Linked DNA regions of Homo sapiens: region 2 is linked to region 1. The links are contacts of gene promoters, found by promoter capture Hi-C in human tissues and cell types (Jung and others, 2019). All regions are on one chromosome and are shown on one strand. Each heading gives the region's core, a stretch centred on a gene start or on the middle of the fragment in contact. The rest is flanking DNA. Distances are from core to core; before and after follow the strand shown.

Evidence for each region. The method cuts DNA at HindIII sites, captures the fragments that hold promoters and counts their contacts. A contact is called where the count stands out against the background at its distance.
Region 2: a fragment that was not itself captured here is called in contact with the fragment with the promoter of PSMD3 in region 1 in 1 of the 25 tissues and cell types used here (IMR-90 fibroblasts).

What each region holds. Positions count from the first base shown.
Region 1 is chr17:39,977,955-39,984,179 of GRCh38, reverse strand. It overlaps PSMD3 (proteasome 26S subunit, non-ATPase 3), which reads right to left and starts at 3,373. Exons shown (of 12, transcript NM_002809.4): 1 at 2,990-3,373. The coding sequence starts at 3,209. RefSeq lists a silencer at 3,033-3,082 and enhancers at 2,485-3,462, 3,263-3,542, 3,763-3,942, 4,364-5,563. The HindIII fragment of the contact is 7,545 bases long and covers 1-5,741 here.
Region 2 is chr17:39,831,298-39,837,522 of GRCh38, reverse strand. It overlaps IKZF3 (IKAROS family zinc finger 3), which reads left to right. Exons shown (of 8, transcript NM_012481.5): 2 at 5,372-5,425. It also overlaps the pseudogene KRT8P34. Among named protein-coding and RNA genes, the nearest start is that of IKZF3, 30 kb to the left of the region's middle. RefSeq lists an enhancer at 1,628-2,127. The HindIII fragment of the contact is 5,404 bases long and covers 1,277-6,225 here.

The DNA.
Region 1 (6,225 bases), core at 2,124-4,623:
CGCCCAGGCCGGAGTGCAGTGGTGTGATCTCGGCTCACTGCAAGCTCTGCCTGCTGGGTTCACACCATTCTCCTGCCTCAGCCTCCCGAGTAGCTGGGACTACAGGCACCCGCCACCACGCCTGGCTAAATTTTTTGTATTTTTAGTAGAGACGGGGTTTCACCGTGTTAGCCAGGATGGTCTCGATCTCCTGACCTCGTGATCTGCCCGCCTTGGCCTCCCAAAGTGCTGGGATTATAGGCGTGAGCCACCGTGCCGGCCAGGCAAGGAGTTCTAAGGAGCCTCTCACAGAGGGGCAAAATGCGACCACTCACCTTTTCTGCCCTAATGGGGTCCATAATATTTACAGATTCCACACACTGATTTTAAGACATAACCAAGTGGCAAGAAAAACATACAGTGGGGGTGCAGGATGGGGTAGAGGATGACAGAGGAAGAAAAGAAAAACCAATTAACTACAGAAACCTGGAGTCCAGATTTATCAGATCTTAATGGAAAAGACTTTCTAAATGTGAACAATGGGAGAAATCACATACGCACAAAAGATTAATGGGCTTGACTTCATTTAAAAAAACCCTTTTAGATAACTGTGTATACAAAAGAAAAATATTTTCAACAAATGTGATCAAAGATTCATATTTTTATTCTATAAAGAGCTTGTATAAATGGTTAAGAGATATAATGGTATAATGATTATATTGCCACAATTTCAAAACAAAAATGGAGACGAACTAACATACAAAGAGGAAAAATAGCTAACAGACAAAAATTATATTCCATTAGTATTTGAGTAATTGCAAATGGAAACATTTTTAAACTACCAAATTTGTAACATTAAAAAAATTATAGGTGGGGCACAGTGGCTCACGCCTGTAATCCCAGTACTTTGGGAGGCTGAGGAGGGCGGATCATTAAGGGTAGCAGTTGGAGACCAGCCTGGCCAACATGGTGAAACCCAGTCTCTACTAAAAATAAAAAAATTAGCCGGGCGTGGTGGTGGGTGACCGTAATCCCAGCTACTCGGGAAGCTGAGGCAGGAGAATCGCTTGAACTTGGGAGGCAGAGGTTGCAGTGAGCCGAGATCGCGCCATTGCACTCCAGCCTGGGCAACAGAGCGAGACTCCGTCTCAAAAAAAAAAAAAAATTATAGAGTACAGTGAAAACTACATTTCTCCTGGTATAATGTAAATCAGCACAGTTTTTCTGGACAATAACTATCAAAAACCTTTAAAATGTTCAGCCTTTTAAACTCAGGCATATAGGTTTTGGTGGGAATCTGTACTGAAGAAATAATTAGAAAAGTAGATTTTTTAAGTTGGGCACAAAGATGATTGCTTCAAAGCTATTTATGATAGCAAGAAACTAGAAACAGTTTAAATGCAAAGCAATAAGGGAATGCAATCAATGAGTAGTTTCTTAGGCACTTCTGTATATTCACCGATTAGCACAGGGTATCTGGGCCACACTAATGATATAAATAATAACAGCTGATATTTATGTGCTAGGCACAGTTTTAAGCATTTTAATGTTCACAACAACCCAATAAAGTACTGTACTATTACTTGTATTTATACAGATGAGGGAACTAATTCCAGAACTTGTACTCTTAACCATTATATTGGGTATTCAATAAATGTTTCTGGAATAAATTGAATGCTGATTATGTTTACGAATGTTAATGAAAACACATAAAATTCAAAATTTATATTTAGTTATGCCTTGATACAAACTGTATACATAACTTGCTCTCAATTATAGGAGAACAGCTCAAAAATTCACAAGAAAAAATGTTAACCATGTTTTTTATCCCCTGCTTTTAACTTCTCATACATTCCACAATTTCTGCAATGAATATGAATTACTTTACAAGAAGAAAATGAAGTGCCTGTAATAAACACACCCAGTAGGCAATGCTGAGTGGCACCTTTGACATTGCTGCCACTACTTTAGGTAAAAGGATCTCTATTAAATATCGATCCTGTTGCTCAACTTTACAGTAAGAGCTGATGTAGTCAACACCATCACATCCTCAAAAGCACCACCTAGGAGGATAACTTTGCTTATCTCAATGTTTTTGAGCTAGTTTCTCACGCATTTTAGTGAAAAGAAAACCTAGTAAGTAGTCTGGTCCCACTTGATCCAGAACCAGGAAAATGGCACCAGGATCACAGTGGGAAGCTCTCACTTTGCCCACTTCAAATGGAAACAGGACGCTGTAAGTGGGAAAAGTAAAACATGAACTTGGAGGAACAAGAGGACTACAGACACTCGAAACAGGAACCTCGGAGAAAAGAAATAGGAGACACCGGTATATAGGAGTTTAGGCCAAAGGTTGAGTATTACAAAACCAAACAAAGATGACACCCGAAAAGTTTTAAGTGTGTATGTACTTAAACCCTTTAGAAACAGAGGGGCAGTAAGGACCTGAAGGGAGGAGACAGCAAGGGGACTGTTGGGACACTTCAGTTAGAGAAGTAGGAAACAAGATACTAGGTCGAAATGGTTCATTCGGGGGAGTGTGCTAAAGGCAGCTAGGACAACAAAAATCTGCTGTACAGTTTTAAAACTCAGGAGTCAATATTCTAGGTCATCCTGGCCCTGTTTACACACAGACACAAACACTGGTTTCCAGCGGGAACAATCAGTCATATATTGGAGGCGCTAAAATCAGTCGGGTGGGATATAAACGGAATAGGTCAGAGGGGAGGACTTAAAAGAGGGAGTCCCCAGGCCCACTGGGACCTAGATATAGATGCAACCCCAGATATGGGGATGGAGGGGATGGGAGGGGAGTGGTTCCCAGCCTGGAGAGAAGGTTCAGTCATTGGGCCTGGAGTCGGGAGTGTCGGGGCAGTGGGAGCAGGTATCTGGGGGTGATCCCAAAGAACTGAGGGTGGTGGAGGCTGCTGTGGCTTCCCAGCAAGAAGCCAAATCACAGGGGTCGCTGTCACCCGCGATCGCGGCACGTTCCCGGCCTGGGCTGCCGTACCCTCCAAGGTGACTGTGTCCAGCTCTCGCTGGGAGTGCTCAGCCGCTGCCGCCGCCGTCTTGCCGTCTGCCTCCCCCGTCGACCCGCCACCCGTCGCTGCCTCCTCTTTCATCTCCACATCCTGGGGGGCCGGCGGCGGTGGGGGTTCTTGTTCTCCTCCGCCGGGCGGCGGTTTCGCCTTGTCCGCGCCGCGGCGCCGCGCCGAGCCCTCCTGCTTCATGGCACCCGGGGTCACGGCCTAGTCCGGGGACCGAGGCCGGGGCCTCGCGTTAACCCTCGCACCGGGGACCAGGAGCCGAGCCGGGCCTGCACACGAGCGCGAGATAGCGTCGGGCCGCACGATGACGGAGCAGCTGCAAACCCCTTCCCGGCGCTGGGCCTTCTGGGAAACGCCAGGCCCGGCAGGCCGATGGCCGAGTCAACAAAGGGGAAATAAATCCACAGCCGAGGTGCAGGATGAAGGAGGAGCTTCGAGGAAGGAGCGGGGAGGAGCCTTTATGGGTTCGTGGGGCTTTCTTTCGAGCGCTTAAGTGTGATGCTTTTATGTTCCTCTCGAGTGCATTTCTGTGGGCGTCCACGAGAGGTCCCCTCAGGCTCCAATCTGGGTTACAAAGGACTTTAAGAGCGCCTCAACCAGCGTGGAGTGGGTACAGCCTATCCGAGCGCGGGACGAGATGACGTCACGAGTTGCCGGGCGGGTTTTGCGCCCAAGTTCGCTCAATTTTCCCCGGTCGCGGCGGGGTCTCCTTCCAGATCCGCTGGGCTTGTGCTCAACGGCTGCCGGGCGCATCCGGCAGGAGGGAAGGAAAGAAGGCTGTGAAGGAGGGACGTGAAGCTAGGGCTGTTGGCCTTAAAATAAACCGAACTGGAGAGTAGGAAGAACCCTATGGGATCCGGACTTCCTTGGTTAGATTTGAGTTTAGTGCTGAACATAAGGCATACAATTTCTGCAGGCTGGGAGTGCCGATAGGTAGGAGCGTGCATTTGCGTAGAATCACTCCAGTTTAACAAAATATAGGGGTCCACCCTATGTACGGCCCACGGTTAGCAAATAGGGGGGTGAAAAACAGCTCAAGAATGTAGTATACGGGGGAGTCAGATGGTTAGATAAGCAGACACTGTGCTCTGGGCTGCGGTGGATTGGGAGTGTTGAGGAAAGAGGGTGGGAGCCCCTACTGGCAGACGCTTTAGGGAGCCCATTGAGAGGGCTTTTATACATCCAGACAGACATTGTGAAATGGGGAACAGAATAATGGTGTGCCTAAGGAGAGAATGATGGTTTACTTAGTGGTGTACCTAAGGGGAAGCAAATTGGACAAGAAACCCTACCCACTTATTTTTCAAAGGACTGCCCCACTGGTTCTGCAGGGAAGGTGAAACAAGGTGAAGGATATAGCTCCCAATTTCTTAGAACACACAACAAAAACTCTCTCCCTACCTTGAAACTTTTCTCTCTCCCATAAGTGGAAGTCCTGAGTTTTAGACCTTTCACGGACCCTACAAGACAATCTAGCCCTGTTGTAAGGACCTAGAAGGCAGGAAATATGTTTTGACCTCCTCCTTTGCATATATAAAGGGTATCCTGCATATCTTTTGCATCCTCTTTCATAGGATTGCAGGATGTTCCTTGCGTTAAACAGCCACTCGCTAACTGGAAAGATATGTGCTCTAGTTTTAGGGAACATGCCTTGACCAGTTCCTCCTCAACTGTCCTCTCACCCTCCAGGGCTGGGGGGTGGATAACAGGACTTTTGAATCATCATTGGAATAAACTCATTAGAACCTCTTCATAACACCATATCTGCAACTGAAGGTGGGCGAGAATGGTAAGGAAGAAAACAGATGAGTTATGTTCATCCTTAACAATCAAAGGAGTTACTCTTCTAGATAGTTAGGGTGTTAGCTCATCTCTCTATTAAGTTTACATCACAAGGAGAAAACAACCAAGTCAGCAGATAACAACCCAGTATATCCATGAGCAATAGAGTGAGGCTTTGGAAGGTGCTCAGGATCAGGGAGGCTGGCGGCATAACACAAAGCTTCTGGCAGTTGGTCATGAATTCTTGGTGGATGAGGGAACCAGGCTGGGCAGGGGGTGACTAAGACACTGGGGGAGAGTCTGACTCCACGGACCAAAATCCTTAGAGAAATTCTTCCACTCATAAAACTTTTTTTTTTTTTTAAACGGAATCTCGTTCTGTTGGCCAGGCTAGGGAGTACAGTGTCGTGATCTTGGCTCACTGCAACCTCCCCCTCTGGGGTTCAAGCGATTCTCCTGCCTCCTTCTCCTGAGTAGCTGGGACTACAGGTGCGAGCCACCATGTCCAGCTAATTTTTAATTTTTTTTTTTTTAATTTTTAGTAGAGACAGGGCTTCACTATGTTGATTAGGCTGGTCTTGAACTCCTGACCTCAGGTGATCCTCCTGCCTCGGCCTTGCAAAGTGCTGGGATTACAGACATGTACTGCACTCATAGAACTACTTTTTTAAAAATTATTTTTATTTTTTGAGACAGGATCTCGCTCCATCACCCAAGCTGGAGTGCAGTGGTGCTATCTTGGCTAACTGCAGCCTCAGCCTCCCAGGCTCAAGTGATCCTCTAACCTCAGCCTCCCGAGTAGCTGGGACCACAGACACATGCCACCATGCCTGGCTAATTTTTGGTATATTTTGTAGAGATAGGGTTTCGCCCTGTTGCCCAGGCTGGTCTTGAACTCCTGGATTCAAGCGATCTGCCCACATTAGCCTCCCAAAGTGCTGGGATTACAGGCGTGAGCTACGGTGTCCGGTCCTGATACTGCTTTAAAAGAGGTTGGTGAAAGATGTTCAAACCCAGCTTTTAGGCAGAGGAGGATGATATAAACCCAGCGGTTTGATGAGATTGTAATATCCATATTAGTAGTAATATGCCAAGCCTACCCACACTACTTCCTCCTACAAGAACCCTAAATTTCAGGGCAGAACAGAGAAAGGTGAAATAATATCACAATTTAGTTTTTAAAGTTTTGGGTTAGTCTTATTCTTGGGTCCCCCTTTTTTTTAAAGGCCCATCTGCATTTTCTGTTCAATAAATTTGAAATCTGTCTTATTTTTGTTTCGGGCTTCTACTATATATCTCTCGGTCTTTCCCTCAACCCAGAGCTAGGGGACTCCCAAATGCTCTTCTTTGAAGACAAACTGCTTTGATATCTTCTCACTTGAGACTCTAGATTCCATTAAAGAAAACTAATTGAACA
Region 2 (6,225 bases), core at 2,729-5,228, 150 kb after region 1:
GAGGATGGCTTGAGGCCAGGAGTTTGAGATCAGCCTTGGCAACAAAGCAAGACCCTGTCTCTAAAAAAAAAAAAAAAGTTTTAAGAAAAAAACCCTGTAAACTCAGAATTCTATATCTAGTAAAAATATCCTATAAGATTGAAGACAAAGTAAAGACATTTGCAAATAATTGAAAACAAGAAAAGTCCCTCAGATAATTGCACTATTAAAAATGCTAAAGTTCTTTAGACTGTAGGGACGTGATACCAGATCAGAACTCAAATCTTTATGAAAAAATGAAAAGCACCAGGCCAGGCACAGTGGCTCACACCTGTAATCCTAACACTTTGGGAGGCTGAGGTGGGAGGATCATTTGAGCCCAGGAGTTTGAGACCAACCTGGGCAACACAGTGAGACCCCCGTCCCTACAAAAGAATTTTTTTTAAATTAGCCAGGCATGGTGGTGCTTCTGTAGTCCTAGTTACTTGGGAGGCTGAGGTGGGAGGATTGCTTGAGCCCAGGAGGTCGAGGCTGCAGTGAACCATGATTGTGCCACTGCACTCCAGCCTGGCAACACAGTGAGACCCTATCTCAAAAAAAGAAAAAAAAGGCACCAGAAATGTTAAATATGTGGGTAATTAGAAAGTACTATTTTTTCATTTTAATCTTTAAAATACAATATGACTATTCAAAGCAAGAATTAGCATTGTATGGTAAGGTTTAAAGTATATGCAGATGTGATACATATGACAACTATAGTATAAAGGTTGGAGGGTAGGAAATGGGCCTAAATGGTTGCAAGCTTTTTACATTTTATGTGAAGTGTATAATTTTAACTCTAAGAAGCCTGGAAAATTAAAGATATATTTTATAGTCCCTAGAACAGAGAGAAATAGACAAATCAACAGTCATATTTGGAGATTTTAATACTCCTTTTTCAGCAACTAAACAACTAGTCAAAAATTAGTATATCCATAGATCTGAATGACATTGTCAACTACCTTGATTTAATTAACATTTATTAAACAGTACACTTGAGAACTGCAGAATACCTAGAAGCAGTTTCTCCACTACTTATTGAATCTCCCCCTGTTTCTGCCCACCTGCCTCCACTCCCGCCTCCACCATGTCCATCAGGGTGACCCAGAAGTTCTACAGGGTGTCCACCTCTGGCCCCGGACCTTCAGCAGCCACTCCAACATGAGTAGGCCTGGTGCCTGCGTCAGTTCCTCGAGCTTCTCCCAAGTGGGCAGCAGCAGCAGTGTCCAGGGTGTCCTGGGTGCCAGCATGGGTCTGGGTGGAGGCTATGGCCGAGCTGGTGGTTATAGGAGGCATCACAGCCATCATGGTCAACCAGAGCCTGCTGAGCCCCCTTAAGCTGGAGGTGGACCCCAACATCCAGGCCGTGTGCACTCAGGAGAAGGAGCAGATTAAGACCCTCAACAAGTTTGCCCCCTTCATCGCGGTTCCTGAAGCAGCAGAACAAGATGCTGGAGACCAAGTAGAGCCTCCTGCGGCAGCAGAAGACAGCTTGGAGCAGCATGGACAACATGTCCAAGAGCTACATCAACAAACCTCCGTGGCAGCTGGACACTCTAGGCCAGGAGAAGCTGAAACTGGAGGCAGATCTTGGCAACATGCAGGGGCTGGTGGAGGACTTCAAGAACAAGTACGAGGATGAGATCAGTAAGCATACAGAGATGGAGAATAAAATTGTCCTCATCAAGAAGGATGTGGATGAGGCATACATGAATAGGGTGGAGCTGGATGGAGTCTTACCTGGATGGCAAGCTTACAAGATCAGCTTCCTCAGGCAGCTGTATGAAGAGGAGATCTGGGAGCTCCAGTCCCAGATCTTGGACACATCTGTGGGGCTGTCCACGCATAACAGCTGCTCCCTGGACACGGACGGCATCATTGCTGAGGTCGAGGCCCAGTATGAGAAGATCGCCAACCGCAGCCAGGCCAAGGCTGACAGCATGCACCAGATCAAGTATGAGGAGCTGCAGACCCTGCCTGGGAAGCACAGGATGACCTGCGTTGTACAAAGACGGAGATCTCCAAGATAAACTGGAACATCAGCCGGCTCCAGTCTGAGACAGAGGGCCTCAAAGGCCAGAGGGCTTCCCTGGAGGCCGCCATTGTGTATGTGTGGGGAGCGGTCCATTAAGGATGCCAATGCCAGGGGGTCCAAGCTGGAGGCCGCCCTACAGTGGGCCAAGCAGGACGTGGCGCGTCAGCTGCTCAAGTACCAGGAGCTGATGACCATCAAGCTGGCCCTGGACATTGAGATCGCCACCTACAGGAAGTTGCTGGAGGGCAAGGAGAGCCAGCTGAAGTCTGGGATGCAGAGCATGAGTATCCATATGAAGACCACCAGGGGCTACTCAGGTGGGCTGAGCTCAGCCTACAGGGGCCTTACAAGCCCTGGCCTCAGCTATGGCTTGGGATCCAGCTTTGGCTCTGGCGGGGGCTCCAGCTCCTTTGGCTGTGCCTGCTTCTCTAGGGCTGTGGTTGTGAAGAAGATCAAGACCACGATGGGAAGCTGGTGTCCCAGTCCTCTGATGTCCTGCCCAGGTGAAAGGCCATAGCAGCCCCTCCCAGCCTACCCCCTCCCATGGCTTCTCCAGAGCCTGTGGAGGAGGCCACTGTGCAGGGGAGTATAGGGAACAGGAGACCCACCTGAGGCTCAGCCCTAACCCTCAGCCCACCCATGGGGAGTTTACTGCCTGGGATACCCCCCTTGCCCATGCCTCCAGCTACAAAACAATTACATCATTTTTTTTTCCTCCAAAATAAAGCCTCAGCCAGATCTGCAAAGCAAAACAAAACAAACAAAGAAAACCAACAAAAACCAGAACATACATATGTCTCAACTACACATGGCACATTCACCAAGAACACCAGTCTTAATACTTTTAAAAGGACTACAGTCACACAGACTGTGTTCTCTGACTGTAGTGCAATGGAATTTGACTTCAATAACAAGTTAGCTAAAGAATTCCCGAATTCCCCCAAATATCTGGAAATTAAACACTTATAAATAACCAGTGGATCACAGAAGACTCGAGGGAAATTAGAACTGAATTATAATCAAAACATCAGCATTTATGAGATGCAGCTAAAGCAATGCTTACAGGAAAACTTATAGCTTTAAATGTTTACAATTAGAAAAGAAGAAAGGAATAAAGTCAGTCACTAAAATTTCACCTTAAGAGGGCAGAAGCAGAGTAAGTTAAGCCCAAAGTAGAGGGAAGAAGCACTTTTGAACAAGTTCTAGTTTCACTGTGTTGAAACTAGATATATGCCTCCTACCCTATAACCCAGTAATTCCACACCTAGGTATTGACTCAAGAGACATGAAAGCATATGACCACAGAAATACTTGTGCAAGGATGATCATGCTCCAGTCTAATCATGAGAAAAACAAACACATCCCAGTTGAGGGACATTCTACAAAATACCTGACCAGTACTCAAAACTGTCAAGATCATCAAAACAAGGAAAGTCTGAGAAACTGTCCCAACCAAGAGGAGCCTAAGGAGACAAGATGACTAAATGTAATGTGGGATCCTGGAAGGGATCCTGCAACAGAAAAAGGACATTAGATGAAAACTAAGGAAATCTGAATACTTAGATAGTAATAATGTATGAATATATATTCATTAATTATAACTGATGTACCATACTAATATAAGATGTTAATAATAGGGGAAATTGGGTGTGGGGTATATGGGAACTCTCTGTGCTATCTTTGCAATTTTTCCATAAATTTAAAACTACTCTAAAATTTAAAAGTTTATTATTTTAAAAAGGAATATCATAGTAGTTTGACTTATAAATAGCCCAAACTGGAAACAGTCTAGGTGTCCATCAATAGGAGAATGGATAAACAAACTGGGATATTCATATGGAATACTACTTAGCAATAAAAAAGAATGAACTACTGATAAACACCACAGAATGGATGTATCTCAAAACATTATGTTGAGTGAAAGAAGCCTCGGGCAAAATAATTTATACCATATGTCTGTGTGATTCTGTTTTTATGAAGTTCTAAAATAGGCTAAACTAATCTATGGTGGAAAAAGTCAAAACAGTAGTTGTCTCTGGAGTATGTGGGTGGGAATTGACTAGGAAGAGATGTGAGGGAGCTTTTCTGGGATGATGGTAATGTTCTGTATCTTGATAGGGGTTTGCATTACATGAGGATATGCATTTTTAAAAACTCATTGAATGGTACACTTAAGATCCATGCATATCACTGTATGTAAAATTTACTTTTTAAAATCTTGTAAACAGATATTGAATTTTAGTTAATAATAATCATGCTGAAATGTTAGGACTGAGGTATACTGATATCTGCAACTTATTTTGCAATGCGTTGAAAAAGCTGGATCGATGAATGGATTGAGAGATGAATGGGTGGAAACATATGTGAGAAAGCAAAAATAGCAAAATGTTAATTGTAGAATCCAGAGGGTGAGTAATGGATGTTCAACTGTGCAGTTCTTTTTTTAAAATTTTTTATTGATACATAATATTTTACATATTTATGGGGCACATGTGATATTTTGTTACATGCATAGAATATATAATAATCAAGTCAGGGAATTTGGAATGTTTATCACCTTGAGTATTTATCATTTCTATGTGTTGGAAACAATTCAAGTCCTCTCTTCTAGCTATTTTGAAATATATAATACGTCGTTGTTAACTATAGTCACCCTACTCTGCTGTCAAACATTAGAGCTTATGCCTTCTATGTAACTATATGTTTTACCCATTAACTAATCTCTCTTCATCCCCCATTCCCACCCACACACCCTGTCTATCATTCTACTTTCCACCTCCATGAGATCAACGTGTTTACTGTCATATATGAATGAGAACATGTGATATTTGTCTTTCTGTGCCTGACTTATTTCACTTAACATAGTGACTTCCAGCTCCATCCATATTGCTGCAAATGACATGATTTTATTCTTTTTAATTGCTGAATAGTATTTCATTATATATATGTACATATATATGTACATATATATATATATACCACTTTGAACTCTTTTTTTCTATGTGTTCATAATAAAATATTGGGGAAGAATAAAGAATATATGAAATTATTTCTAATGGAACCCACTTTTTGCATATTGTTCTTGGTGTAAGTAGATCTCTGGCAGAAAGTTCTTAGAGTAACATTGCTGCATCAATATTTTTTTTTCATGCTCCTTGAAAGGCTTTTAGGGAGAATATAGAGAAAGAGTAATCTTGCTCTGAAAGAGGAATTCTGCTGTTAAGTTTTCCGAAATGGTATCCCTTATTAAATTTGGAATGCTCAAACCTGTAGAAATGTACCCTAAGTAGCTAATATTTATAACCTCTTTCTTTTCAGATATACAAACAAATGCGGAACTGAAAAGCACTCAGGAGCAGTCTGTGCCCGCAGGTAACATCAGGTCTTTCCTCTCTGGAAATATACCTTTACTAAAAAAAATACCAAAGAGAGAGGAATGTGCTTATTCTGGTTGCAGTAAAAATGCTATGGAAATGTGTGTGTGTTTTTTTTTAAATATGGTTGTCTGTTGCTGATGAAAAAATAACTCATCCATTTAGATCATGTAAGTTCTTTAGCATCTTAGGGCCAAACATACACTACCTAATGTTGATCACTGTTTGTTTGTTTGTTTGTTTGTTTTTGATTTTTCAGCTCATTGCTCTGAAGACAGTTTTTGTTGAATAATATAGTAGCTTGTATTTGAATGACTTGCGATTTTTACTGTAGAACAGTGGTCTGCAAACTTTTTTGTAAAGGGCCAGATAGTAAATATTTAGACTTTGCAGGCCACATATGGTCTCTGTCACGTATTATTTTTTGTATTTCTTACAACCCTTAAAAAATGTAAAAACCATTCCTACCTCTTGGGCCCACACAGAAGCAGGCTATGGTCAGACTTGTACCTCAGGCCATAGTTTACTGATCCCTGCTCTAGAATAAATTATAAACATTTACAATAATTTATTTCCTGAAAATAACTTCTGTGTCCTCCATTGATTAACTCACTGTGTGAATCAAAGCTTACATTATATTACAAAATTTAATTTATCACTGAAATGCCTTTTTGTGTTACTGTAACTTGTAATCACATCTTTCTTTCTTTCTTTTTTTTTTGAGACGGAATTTCGCTCTTGTTGCCCAGGCTGAAGTACGATGGTGTGATCTCGGCTCACCACAACCTTAGCCTCCCG